Linked DNA regions of Homo sapiens: regions 2 and 3 are each linked to region 1. The links are contacts of gene promoters, found by promoter capture Hi-C in blood cells and fetal thymus (Javierre and others, 2016). All regions are on one chromosome and are shown on one strand. The core of a region is centred on a gene start or on the middle of the fragment in contact, and the rest is flanking DNA. Distances in the headings are between cores, read along the strand shown. Region 1 holds the start of SOWAHA (sosondowah ankyrin repeat domain family member A). Region 2 overlaps RAD50 (RAD50 double strand break repair protein). Region 3 overlaps RAD50 (RAD50 double strand break repair protein).

The links. Contacts are between HindIII fragments. The CHiCAGO score rates a contact against its expected background, and 5 or more counts as called.
Region 2: a contact is called between a fragment that was not itself captured here and the fragment with the promoter of SOWAHA in region 1, in 1 of 17 cell types (megakaryocytes). The highest score is 5.1, in megakaryocytes.
Region 3: a contact is called between a fragment that was not itself captured here and the fragment with the promoter of SOWAHA in region 1, in 2 of 17 cell types (erythroblasts and endothelial precursors). The highest score is 7.4, in erythroblasts.

The regions. Positions count from the first base shown.
Region 1 is chr5:132,810,988-132,815,476 of GRCh38, forward strand. SOWAHA (sosondowah ankyrin repeat domain family member A) reads left to right here and starts at 2,315. Exons shown (of 1, transcript NM_175873.6): 1 at 2,315-4,489. The coding sequence starts at 2,635. The coding sequence ends at 4,284. RefSeq lists a silencer at 3,350-3,419 and enhancers at 3,459-3,959, 3,960-4,460. The HindIII fragment of the contact is 6,134 bases long and covers 320-4,489 here.
Region 2 is chr5:132,582,280-132,586,392 of GRCh38, forward strand. All of the region lies in intron 5 of RAD50 (RAD50 double strand break repair protein), which reads left to right. Among named protein-coding and RNA genes, the nearest start is that of RAD50, 27 kb to the left of the region's middle. The HindIII fragment of the contact is 3,884 bases long and covers 495-4,113 here.
Region 3 is chr5:132,565,998-132,570,415 of GRCh38, forward strand. The region is part of intron 2 of RAD50 (RAD50 double strand break repair protein); the gene reads left to right. Among named protein-coding and RNA genes, the nearest start is that of RAD50, 11 kb to the left of the region's middle. The HindIII fragment of the contact is 4,429 bases long and covers 455-4,418 here.

The DNA of each region.
Region 1 (4,489 bases), core at 1,065-3,564:
GTCAGGAGTTCGACACCAGCCTGGCCAACATGGTGAAACTCCATCTCTACTAAAAATAAAAAATTAGCCAGGCATGGTGGCACATGCCTGTAATCCCAGCTACTTGGGAGGCTGAGGCAAGAGAATTACTTGAACCCGGGAGGCGGAGCTTGCAGTGAGCCAAGATTGCGCCATTGCACTCCAGCTTGGGCAACAAAAGCAAAACTCCATCTCAAAAGAAAAAGGGGGGGCGCTGGGGTAAGGCTAGATGCAGTGGCTCACACGTGTAATCTTTGGAGGCTGAGGTGGAAGGCTCGCTTGAGGCCAAGGGTTTGAGACAAGCTTGGGCAATATAAAAATAAAATTAGCTGGGTGTGATGCTGTTGCGTGTGATGGTGCGTGCCCTGCGAATTCTACTCCTAGGAGCCTATCCTAAGGAATTACTCAGAAAGGTGCACAAAGTCTTATATATCAACAGCATCATTTATAAGAATTAAAAACTAGAAACAATATAAACAATGAAGAACAAGAAAACAAAGTATAATACTACATTTATTTGATGCTATCATTAAAAGTTGTATGTTTTTGAAGACTAGACTAGCTATTGTCATTGGGAGGAATGCTCACAATATAAAGTGAGGGGGAAATGTTTAAATTGTTTGCATCTTGGGGACAGGGCTGAACTCAGAAATTGCCCCTGGGGATTGGATTGGGGAAAGGGGACCCTTTACATTTTAGTCTTCTGTTTTCCTTTTGAGTAATACTAATAGTAGTGACTATACTACTAATAATAATTCAAATGATTACTGTAAGCCAAGCATTATGCTAAGTCTTTTGTGTTTATTTTCTCACTTAATTCTCTCAACCATCTGAGCAGGTAAGTACTATTTTCCTCATTCCTTTACAGACAAGAAAGCTGAGGCACAGAGAAGTCAAGGCATTTGCCCAAGGTAGAGCCAGAACTCAAGTGTAGAATGTTGACTCCAGAGTCTTGTTTTCTCAGCTACTACAATATGCTGCTTCTGGTTAGATATATTTGTAGTACTGCAATTATTTATTTATTTATGAGACAGGGCTTGCTCTTGTCATCCAGGCTGGAGTGCAGTGGCGCCATCTCAGCTCACTGCAACCTCCACCTCCCGGGTTCAAGCGATTCACCTGCCTCAGCCTCCGGAGTAGCTGGGATTACAGGTGCGTGCCATCACACCCAGCTAATTTTTGTATTTTTAAGTAGAGATGGATTTCACCATGATGGCCAGGCTGGTCTCGAACTCCTGACCTCAGATCATCCGCCCAAGTCAGCCTCCCAAAGTGCTGGGATTAGAGGCGTGAGCCATCGCGCCCGGCCTGCATTTTAAATTAAGGAACTGATTCTACCTCTGCCAGGCAGTTCCCTCAACTAGAAACCTCTTCCCCGTCTACATAACTCCCTGATCTCCTTCAAGTCCTTGTTTAAATGTCACTTTCACAACGAGTACTATCCTGACTGCCCAGATCAAAATTGCAACCTGACCCTCATCCGTTATACCCCGCTGTGCTTTTTTCATAGCATGTATTTAGTATATCATATAGTTTTCGGATTCACCATATGCTTCTGTTCTCCTCCAACACATGAGCCCCACTAGGTCACGGGTTTTTAAATCTGTCTTGCTAACTGACGCATCTTAGCCAAAAAAAAAAAAAAAAAAGTCCTGGCACAAACTACGTGCTCAATACCTATCTGTGGAACAAACGAAGGTTTAAAACCATGGCATGACTCCGCATTGCTTTCTTACTTTAAAGCATAAACATACATACACACATGGGAGACAGGGAGAGGATATTTCAAAATGTTAATGGTGATTTCAAGTGATTTTTTTTCCTTCTTTATGTTTTCCTCTATGTTTTCCTGTTATGTTTATGTTTCCTGTGGTTTTATACCCCAAATTCTACGTGAAAATGTATTCTCTTACCATGAGAAAATTGCTTTTGAAAACGTCTCTCTAAACCTAGAGTAACGTGCATTGCCGCGCAGAGTGAATTGGTTTTGCTGTAAATCTCATGAAGCCGTTTTCCTGCATGAAACACAGTAAAAAAAAAAAAAAACTGGAGTGGTATTGACGACCTTTAAAAAAAAAAGATTGTTCTGAAATCATCGCTTGGTGTTTTGCAGTGGTTAAATGTTTATTAAAGGAATAAAAATCCATTCCTCCTTGGCGGACCGCGGCGTCCCTAGGGAACACACCCACCTAGCAACCGAGACCAGAGCTGGAGCGCTGCGCCTTTAATTCTGGGGCGGGCGGGGGGCGGCGGGAATTTCTGCTCCGGTTCCCTCTGCATCGCGGGGGCAGCTGTCACCTGTAAGGCGAGCGCGGCGCGGGGGATGGAAGCAGGCGCCCATTGGACAGAATACAAAGGCAGAAACCTACCCCGAAGGCCGGGGCCCGGCGGGGCGCTGGGGGTGGGCGCTCCCCGCGGCCCCCGGCGCCCTTCGCCCCGAGACGCCCCGGCCCAGCGGCACTGGCGCGACCGAGGTCCAGCTTCGGGGACACGCCCGGCTGGCCGCGGGGAAGGCACCAGGTGAGCGCGGCCGCGCCTCCCGGAACCCCGCTCCCGCGCGTCCCGCGGCGACGCGGCGCCCACCCGCCCCGGGAGCCAGGAACCCAGGGCCCCACCATGGCGCTGGCCGCCGCCGCCGCCGCTGCGGCTGCCGGGGTGAGCCAGGCGGCGGTGCTGGGCTTCCTGCAGGAGCACGGCGGGAAGGTGCGCAACTCCGAGCTGCTGAGCCGCTTCAAGCCGCTGCTCGATGCCGGCGACCCGCGGGGCCGCGCCGCCCGCAGGGACCGCTTCAAGCAGTTCGTCAACAACGTGGCGGTGGTGAAGGAGCTCGACGGCGTCAAGTTCGTGGTGCTGAGGAAGAAGCCCCGGCCCCCGGAGCCCGAGCCCGCACCCTTCGGCCCCCCGGGGGCAGCGGCCCAGCCGTCGAAACCCACTTCGACGGTCTTGCCGCGGAGCGCCTCTGCCCCGGGAGCTCCGCCCTTGGTCCGGGTGCCGCGGCCAGTGGAGCCGCCAGGGGACCTGGGTCTGCCAACAGAGCCACAGGACACCCCGGGGGGGCCGGCCTCCGAGCCCGCTCAGCCGCCCGGGGAGCGGTCCGCCGACCCACCGCTTCCAGCCCTTGAGCTAGCCCAGGCCACCGAGAGACCCTCCGCAGACGCGGCCCCACCGCCTAGGGCCCCTTCTGAGGCGGCATCGCCCTGCTCTGATCCGCCAGACGCGGAGCCCGGGCCCGGGGCAGCGAAAGGGCCGCCGCAGCAGAAGCCCTGTATGCTGCCGGTGCGCTGCGTCCCGGCCCCCGCCACGCTCCGCCTCCGGGCGGAGGAGCCCGGCCTGCGCCGGCAGCTGTCGGAGGAGCCGAGCCCGCGGAGCTCCCCTCTGCTGCTGAGGCGGCTCTCGGTGGAAGAGTCCGGTCTGGGCCTCGGCCTGGGCCCGGGCCGCTCCCCGCACCTGAGGCGCCTGTCGCGCGCCGGCCCGCGTCTGCTGAGCCCTGACGCCGAGGAGTTGCCCGCCGCGCCGCCGCCGTCCGCGGTGCCCCTGGAGCCGTCCGAGCACGAGTGGCTCGTGCGGACTGCCGGGGGCCGCTGGACCCACCAGCTGCACGGGCTGCTGCTGCGCGACCGCGGCTTGGCGGCCAAGCGCGACTTCATGTCTGGCTTCACGGCCCTGCATTGGGCCGCCAAGAGCGGCGACGGCGAGATGGCGCTGCAGCTGGTGGAGGTCGCGCGGCGCAGTGGCGCACCAGTCGACGTGAACGCACGCTCCCACGGCGGCTACACGCCGCTGCACCTGGCTGCACTGCACGGCCACGAGGACGCTGCCGTGCTGCTGGTGGTGCGTCTGGGTGCCCAGGTGCACGTGCGTGATCACAGCGGGCGTCGCGCCTACCAGTACCTGCGGCCCGGCTCCTCGTACGCGCTGCGCCGCCTTCTTGGCGATCCAGGCCTGCGAGGCACCACGGAGCCAGATGCGACCGGTGGTGGAAGTGGCAGTCTTGCTGCCAGGCGCCCCGTACAGGTGGCCGCCACCATCCTCAGTTCCACCACCAGTGCATTTCTGGGCGTCCTGGCTGACGACCTCATGCTCCAGGACCTGGCCCGAGGCTTGAAGAAGTCGAGCTCCTTCAGCAAGTTCTTGAGCGCCTCGCCCATGGCTCCACGTAAAAAGACAAAGATCCGCGGTGGTCTGCCAGCCTTCTCAGAAATCTCTCGTCGACCTACTCCGGGGCCTTTAGCTGGTCTAGTGCCCAGTTTGCCTCCAACAACCTGAAGGTCCCTGGGGCTACCACCTGGTTGATCTATCGTGGCCTGCTCGTCGCAGTCCAAACCCGCCCAAGACTGCAGCCCAATCAACGCCTGGAGCCTCATTCTGTTTCCAGCTTTGTCCAGGGCAGCCTGTTTTACCCAGATGGGCCTGCACCTCCAGCTTCTTTCTGAAGCATGACCCATCTCCAGAGATGGGATTTGAGAAATCA
Region 2 (4,113 bases), core at 1,187-3,686, 230 kb before region 1:
GTGTTTAATTGTGAGTAATTCTCCAAGGGTTTAATATTCTTCTCTGTATCCTCAGAGCCTAGCCTAGTGCCTGGCACATAGCAGGTGGTTCAATAAATGTTTATTAAGTAGATGACTTCCAAAGTCCTTTTTTTTAGCTCTGACATGTGAAGATTCTTCCCTTCATAGAACCCAATTAAAGTTTGGGTCAAATCACCTTCCCAGAAAAGACTACGTCCTTTCAACCATGCACTAGAATGCATCCTTTCCCATTTTTACTGATTCCCTTTATCTTCGGGAACTCTCACTCTCTCATAAACTACTTTATTACCATCCCACCATATCCTGTCCTCTTTTTTTGGCCTACTTAGATCTGTTTTCCTTTCTTGCCTTAAATGGGAATTGCTAGAGGAATATGTTTCTAACTTTTTTTTTCTGCACACAAGTTCATGGTCCTTCTATACTTGATAGCCCAGCTGCTCTATTTTTTTTATCTCATTTCACACTGGCACCTAAGCTTTAAACCCTTGGCTGTTTTTGTTATTGTTGTCTGCCTGCTTGTCCTAGCTCCTTTTACTAGGTGTGTACTCTGGGGATAGAACCTATGTTTTGTGCTCTGAGATTAGAACCAAAACACAGATGTCAAAGAAGGAATTCAGGGGATCTGGTGACTGGCTGGATTTAAGGAATGAAGCAGGTAGAGATGTCATGAAAGATCCAAGCCCAGATGATTATCATAATGTTTGTGCTACCAAGAGGCAGTGAAAACACTGATGGAAAGAAACTGAGCACTTTGTAGAGTATCATAGTAGAGCTGTTAGTATTCATTGCTCTTAAGTATCCATCCAGTTATATTTGTTAGACTCTACTCAAAAGGTATTTTCTGAGTACAGAATTTTTTTCACAAGTGGTGCAAATGGTCTCATTAATTGAATGTTTACTGCCTAACACTAACCCGAGTGCTTTAAAATGTATAATGTAAACTCCATAGTAACTGTGAGGTTGTATAGGCAGGAAAACTGAGGTACAGGTATTCACAGTGGAAATAAGGGTTAAAGGTAGGATTTGAGTCCTCTGATTCCTAAGTTTATACCTTTTTTTCTTTTTAAGTCAAGTTTATTAAGGTATAATATATATATGGTAAAATCCACCCTTTTTAGAGTATAAATTCTATGAGTTAGGACATATGCATACAGTAGCATAACCATCACTAAAATGAAGATGTAGAATATTTCAGTCACTCCAAAAAGTTCTCTCAAAGTCCTTGCAGTCAGTCCTCTCCCCTGCTCCCATCCATAGTAACCACTAATTTGTTTTCTGTCATTATAGTTTTGCCTTTTCCAGAGAGTGGCACATATATAGAATCATACAGTATGCAGACTTTTGTGTCTGGGATTTATCTATGTTGCTGCATGTGTGAGTAATTCATTCCTTTTTTTTTTTTTTTTTTTTGAGACGGAGTTTCACTCTTATTGCCCAGGCTGGAGTGCAATGGCATGATCTCGGCTCACTGCAACCTCCGTCTCCCAGGTTCAAGCAATTCTCCTACCTCAGCCTCCCAAGTAGCTGGGATTACAGGCATGTGCCACCATACCCAGCTAATTTTTTTTGTATTTTTAGTAGAGACGGGGTTTCTCCATGTTGGTCAGGCTGGTCTCGAACTCCCAACCTCAGATGATCTGCCCACCTCGGCCTCCCAAAGTGCTGGGATTACAGGTGTGAGCCACTGTGCCCGGCAATTCATTCCTTTTTATTGTGGAGGAGCATTCCTTCCATTGTATGCATGTATTATAATTTTTTTCCTCATCCATTCTGTGGCTGATGGACATTAAGTTGTTTTTGGTTGAACTAGTTTACAGTCCCTCCAACAGTGTAAAAGTGTTCCTCTTTCTCCACATCCTCTCCAGCACCTGTTGTTTCCTGATTTTTATTGATCGCCATTCTAACTGGTGTGAGATGATATCTCATTGTGGTTTTGATTTGCATTTCTCTGATGGCCAGTGATGATGAGCATTTTTTCATGTGTCTGTTGTCTGCATAAATCTCTTCTTTTGAGAAGTGTCTGTTCATATCCTTCACCCACTTTTTGATGGGGTTGTTTGTTTTTTTCTTGTAAATTTGTTTGAGTTCTTTGTAGATTCTGGATATTAGCCCTTTGTCAGATGAGTTGATTGCAAAAATGTTCTCCCATTCTGTAGGTTGCTTGTTCACTCTGATGGTAGTTTCTTTTGCTGTGCAGAAGCTCTTTAGTTTAATTAGAACCCATTTGTCAGTGTGGCGATTCCTCAAGGATCTAGAAATAGAAATACCATTTGACCCAGCCATCCCATTACTGGGTATATACCCAAAGGATTATAAATCATGCTGCTATAAAGACACATGCACATGTATGTTTATTGCAGCACTACTCACAATAGCAAAGACTTAGAACCAACCCAAATGTCCAATGATGATAGACTGGATTAAGAAAATATGGCACATATACACCATGGAATACTATGCAGCCATAAAAAATGATGAGTTCATGTCCTTTGTAGGGACATGGATGAAGCTGGAAACCATCATTCTCAGCAAACTACCGCAAGAACAAAAAACCAAACACCGCATGTTCTCACTCATAGGTGGGAATTGAACAATGAGAACACTTGGACAGACACAGGAAGGGGAACATCACACACTGGGTCCTGTTGTGGGGTGGGGGGAGGGAGGAGGGATAGCATTAGGAGATACACCTAATGTAAATGACGAGTTAATGGGTGCAGCACACCAACATGGCACATGTATACATATGTAACAAACCTGCATGTTGTGCACATGTACCCTCGAACTTAAAGTATAATAAAAAGAAATAAGTTGTTTTCGGCTTTGGGTTGTTACAGATAAAACTGCTATAAACTTCTGTATACAGGTCTTTGGATAACTTTAGGACTCGGGTTGCTAGGTCGTGTGGTAAATATATGTTTAACCTTATAAGTTACCAGATGGCTGTACCATCTGGTACCACTTCATAGTCCTACCAACAATATACCAACAATTTATGGGAATGTAATTGCTCTGCATTCTCATCCCCACTTAGTACTGTCAGTCTTTTTCATTTTAGCCATAACAGTAGGGGTGTGGTAGTGTCTCATTGTGACATTGTGAGGTTGTATTTCTTTATATTTTTAATTTGTGTTTTCCTAGTTGATCAGTCAATTGATTATTGATTTTGAGCATCTTTTCATGTATTTATTTGCCACCTGAATATCTTCGTTAGTAAAATATAAAAGTCTTTTGCCTATTTTTCAATGTTATTTATTTATTGGTCATTTTATTATTGAGCTGTGAGAGTTCTTTTTTTTTTTTTTTTTTTTCTTGTTTTTTGAGACAGGGTCTCGCTGTCTTACCCAGGCCAGAGTGCAGTGGTGTGATCTTGGCTCACTGCAACCTCTGACTCCCAGGCTCAAGTGATCCTTCCACCTCAGTCTCCCACGTAGCTGGGACTACAGGCACACACTCACCACACCGGTGAGACTTGTAGAGGCAAGGTCTCACCAGGTTACCCAGGCTGGTCTCAAACTTCTGGGCTCAAGCAATCAGCCTGCCTCAGTCTCCCAAAGTGCTGGGATTACAGGTGTGAGCTACAGTGCCAGGCAGAGAGTTCTAAATATGTTCTGGATACAAGCCCTTTATCAGATATTGGTTTTGCAGATATTTCTTAACTGCTTTTCAGAGGACAGGAGTTTTAAATTTTGATCAGGTACAGTTTATAAACTTTTTTCTCTTATGGTTTATACTTTTTGTTTATTATTTAGGAAGTCTTTGACCCAGTGTCACAAAAATATTCTTCAGTGTTTTCCTCTAAAAGTTTTATAGTTTGAGTTCTTACAATTAAGTATATGCTTCATTTCAGAATCTTAATATGATATGAGGTAAAAGTTGAGGTTTACTTTCTTACATACAAATGTCCACTTCTTCTAGCACCCAGAGCCTAGTCATTATGATACCCTGCCTTCTAATCTTATTGTTATCTTGTCTCCCAATCTTAACTATACAATTTTGTACAAGTCAGTTAAGTCCTTTGAATTTCCTGCTTAGTATATACTTTTGTGAGGATTAGAGAGAATTTATAGCAGCACCTAGTACAGTGTCTGG
Region 3 (4,418 bases), core at 1,419-3,918, 240 kb before region 1:
ACCTTCTTCTGCCCCACCTAATGGTTTTACAACTAGATTGTTTGGAGAAAGAAGGGTTTTTCTTATTTTTTATTTTATTCTTTTTGATAGAAATTGTTCTGAAGTATAATACACATTTCTTTGTTTTAATAATTCAATCTAAATTACACTTCACTTTTGAAGTGACTCTTCTTCAATAAGAGTGTCAACAACAATGTAGTGATAGAAATGCTACAAGATAGCCCTTGCTTGAATTCTATTTACTAATTTGATGTTTGCCGGGTAGCTAGGTCCTCGAAAAGTAGATGCCATGGAGAAAGAGTATGTGTATTTGGCTTGCTACTCAGGAACACTGTAAACAAATTAATTTTTTGCTGCATAAATACATAGCTCCTTAGTTCAACTACTGTGGATTAAACCTTCAGCAGAATGCTCTCCTTATGATGAAATGACAGAGTCAAGTCTGGGCTTTCAAAGCTTTATACTGACCTCTGGCCACCTCCTCATTGAAATGTCTGTATCCTAAGAGGCTGTTTCTGAGTAGCCAGTTCAGCGACTTCTTCCTCTTTACCTCCATCCTCAACCCTTGTCCAGGCTGCCTTCCTATCTCTCCTCGATTATTCCCTGCTTCATGTCTTGTCTCAGTTCACTCTGTTCACCCTAAAGACAAAATAATTCTTCTAAAATGCATATCTACTTCATGCAATTCCCCTGGTTCAAACCATTTAGTGCCATCACCTTAAATCCAAAAGCCTTACCAAGTTTAGAAGGCTGTTAATTTCTGAAACATTTTAGGTTGATACTCTTCTTTTCCCTACTTTCTATGCCAAACATTCTGAAATTTCTGTAGTCACGTAGTGACTCAGATCTTCTCATCTGGTTAACTTCTACCCAGATTGGTAGAAGTTTCATTTAAACATTCACTTCCTTTAGACTACCTTCCCTGAGCTGTCCTAGATAGGTTAGATGCTCCTGCTTTGTACTCCCAGATTATCCTGTGCTTATGATGGTGTTTAGCACACCTTGTCTACATTTAACCTATCTTGCATGCTTCAAAGGAAAAAAAGTCTGTCAGTTTGAACCAAAACAACACATGAAACCTACAAAGTGCCTGTAAATATTTGTTGAATGATTAATTGAATTAGTATCAAAGTTAAATTCATGCCAAGAAGTCATTAAAAAGTCAGCAAAGGATCTTTAATGATTTTTTTTTTTTAAAGCAGAATCCAGTACTTGTGATTTGGGTTGCAACAAAATAATGAGTATCACACTTATACTCGCAAGATGAATAACTGTAACACTGGAAAAGTATGTGAAACAACTATTTTCAGGCATTGGACCACAGATAATGCAGGGCTATATTCTTTGAGAAAGGAGAAACATAAAAGGTGATTCTGCATTCATTCCAGCTTTCTACCTGGGAACACTTTGTAAACTTTGGCACATGGAATTGGAATCCAGTAGAGAGCTGGGCAGAATTGGGCATCACTAGGCAGATGAAACAAAGATAGGATTTTGGATTTGCTAAAGTGACTGGAAATTGTAGAGCAGAGTACTGAAGTAGGGTTGTTGTGCAGAGATGGTGTACCAGAAATCTGCATAAGGATCTTTTGAGTCTTTGGCCAAATACTAAGCTATCCATGTATAGGATGAGATTTAATGAGGGCTAGTAGAGAACAACTACCAAGGTGGCAAGTGGGGCTGTGAGTGTTGTATTCTAAAGGTCACACAATGCTGTGAGACATTTGAGTCCTGATGTGCCAGAATGGAGTGACCTTGTGGAACTCTCCAGTGTTCACTTGAGACCTCAGAAAGGCCCACCTAACAAATACTGAAACCAGGTTTTGATAGAATCAAGCTGAGTTGCCAGTAAATTAACTGGCTGCTAGAACAAAACTCAAGACTTTTTAAAGGAAGCCTACTCAGTCGAAGCTCTCAATGTGGCATCTACAATGTGCAGAATATAATTTTAAAAATTAATGGGAATATGCAAAAGAAAATGTGGTCTATACCTGAGAAGGGAAAAGTGAGTAGAAGCAGATCCAGAGATGACAGATTTTGGAATTAGCAGACAAGGATTTTTTTTTAAATTTTTTTTAAATTTTTTTTTTTGAGATGGAGTCTCACTCTGTTTCCCAGGCTGGAGTGCAGTGGCACAATCTCGGCTCACTGCAACCTGTGCCTCCCAGGTTCAGGCAATTTTCCTGCCTCAGCCTCCCGAGTAGCTGGAACTACAGGTGCCCACGACCATGCCCGGCTGATTTTTTATTTTTTTATTTTTTATTTTTAGTAGAGACGGGGTTTCACCATATTAGCCAACCTGGTCTCGAACTCATGACCTTGTGATCCGCCTGCCTCGGCCTCCCAAAGTGCTGGGATTGCAGGCATGAGCCACGACGCCCGACCGGATTTTTTTAAAGCTATGATAGATAAGCTCAAGGACTTAAAGGAAAAGATGGACATAATGTGTGGGAAGACATCTAAACAGAGTAATAAAAACTATAAAAAAAGACCCAAGAAGCTGAATGCATCACAAGCAGCATAAACATAACTATGTTGTACATTACATTCAAATTGTTCAAAACTAAATATAAAATCTTAAAAACAGGTGGAGGAAAAAGTAACACATCATGCAGAGGGAAAGAATAATGAGTATGATTACTTCTTAGGAAAAGCAATCTAAACCTGAAAACAGTGGGACAGCACCTTTAAGGTGCTAGGGAATAAAAGTTAAACTCCTATATCCAGCAAAAATATTCTTTGAAAATTGGAGGTGAAATGGAGGACATTTTCAGATTTAAAACAAAATGGTAGAGGTAATTTGTTACAGACAGGCTTGCACTATAGTAATTGTTAAAGAAAGTTTTTGAGGCTGAAGGAAAATGTCGAAAATGATTGTAAATTAGTCCTAGAGTAAAAGCTGCTCTAGGTCCCCCTTTACAGACCTTAACAACAAAGGTTCAAAAGAATCCAACTGTTTGTTGCTCAAAAAACTTAACTGCATGCCAGAACAAAGTTCAGTACTCATTAAAGGAATAAAACAAAATCTTTCACCCAACAATACAAAATTCACAATCAAAAGTTAACAGGCATCCAAAGAAGCAGGGAAATAGGACCCATAATCAGAGAAAAATCAATCATATGAACAGATCCAAAATGAAAGAAATAATAGAATTAGTAGATAAGAACCCTAAAACCTTATTATAACTCTTATAAATATGCTCATAGATATAAAGGAAAACATAAGCATAATGAGAAAAATGGAAAATAATTTTAAAAACCCAAATAAACGGAATAATGGTGTTTTGTATATAATGGTACAAATAGGTTAAAAGCAAAAGGATTGAAAAAATATACTGTGCCAGCTAATGAAAAGAAAGCTGAAGTGACCATATTAATACCAGACAGAAGACATCAGAACTAGGGAAAATGAAACATTTTATGATGAGAAGAGGTCAATTTAATGCAAGGACACAAAAATTCTAAATGTAAAACTTCCAAATATATGAGGCAGAAACCTATGGAACAGAATGGAGAAATACACAAATCTGCAAGGTCAATTGGAGATCTCAATACCCCTCTCAGTAGAGAAAAGAAGCAGATGAAATATCAGTAAGTATATGGAAAATTTTAACAACACTGTTAACCAAATCAACCTGATTGACATTTATAGGACATTCCATTGAACGATAGCAGAATACACTTTATTTTCAAGTGCATGTGGAACATTCTGTAAGATAGACCAACATTCTGGACTGTAAAACAAGTGTCAATAAATTTATAAGGAGTAAAGTCATAGATAATGTATTCTGTGACTACACCAGAATCAGTAGCAGAAAAGTATCCGGAAAATCCCCAAATAATTGAAAAATTAAGCAGCATACTTCTAAATATTACATGGATCAAAAAAGGAATCACAAGGGAAATTAGAAAAAATACTTTAAATGAATCAAAAATATAGCATGTAAAAATATGTGGGGTGCAGCTAGATAATGCTTAGAGAGATACGGTAGAAAAGAAACCAATCAGTATAATTTGCCACATTAACAGAATAAAAAAGAAATATCATATGAACACCAATAGATACAGAAAACGCATTTCAATTTAATAGTCTTTCGTGGTAAAAACCCTCAGCATAACTGATGGAGGAATATTAATTCCTGAATAATTCAGTCCAAAATCCGTTAGGTGTGGCTGAGTGAGGAAGGCATCCACAAAAACAAGCTGTGACAGCCTGGTGGGGGATTGGAGCCCAAGTAAGGAATCTATGAGTTTATACTGATACAAGAAAATGGGGGGGGAAATGGAGAAAGAGCAAAGCCCCTTATACTAGAACCTTAACTAATATAAAAGGAATAATGGAACTAGAAAATTACTATAGGCATACCTTAGATATTGCAGGTTAAGTTCTAATGGATGGCGGTCTTGTCTACATTGAA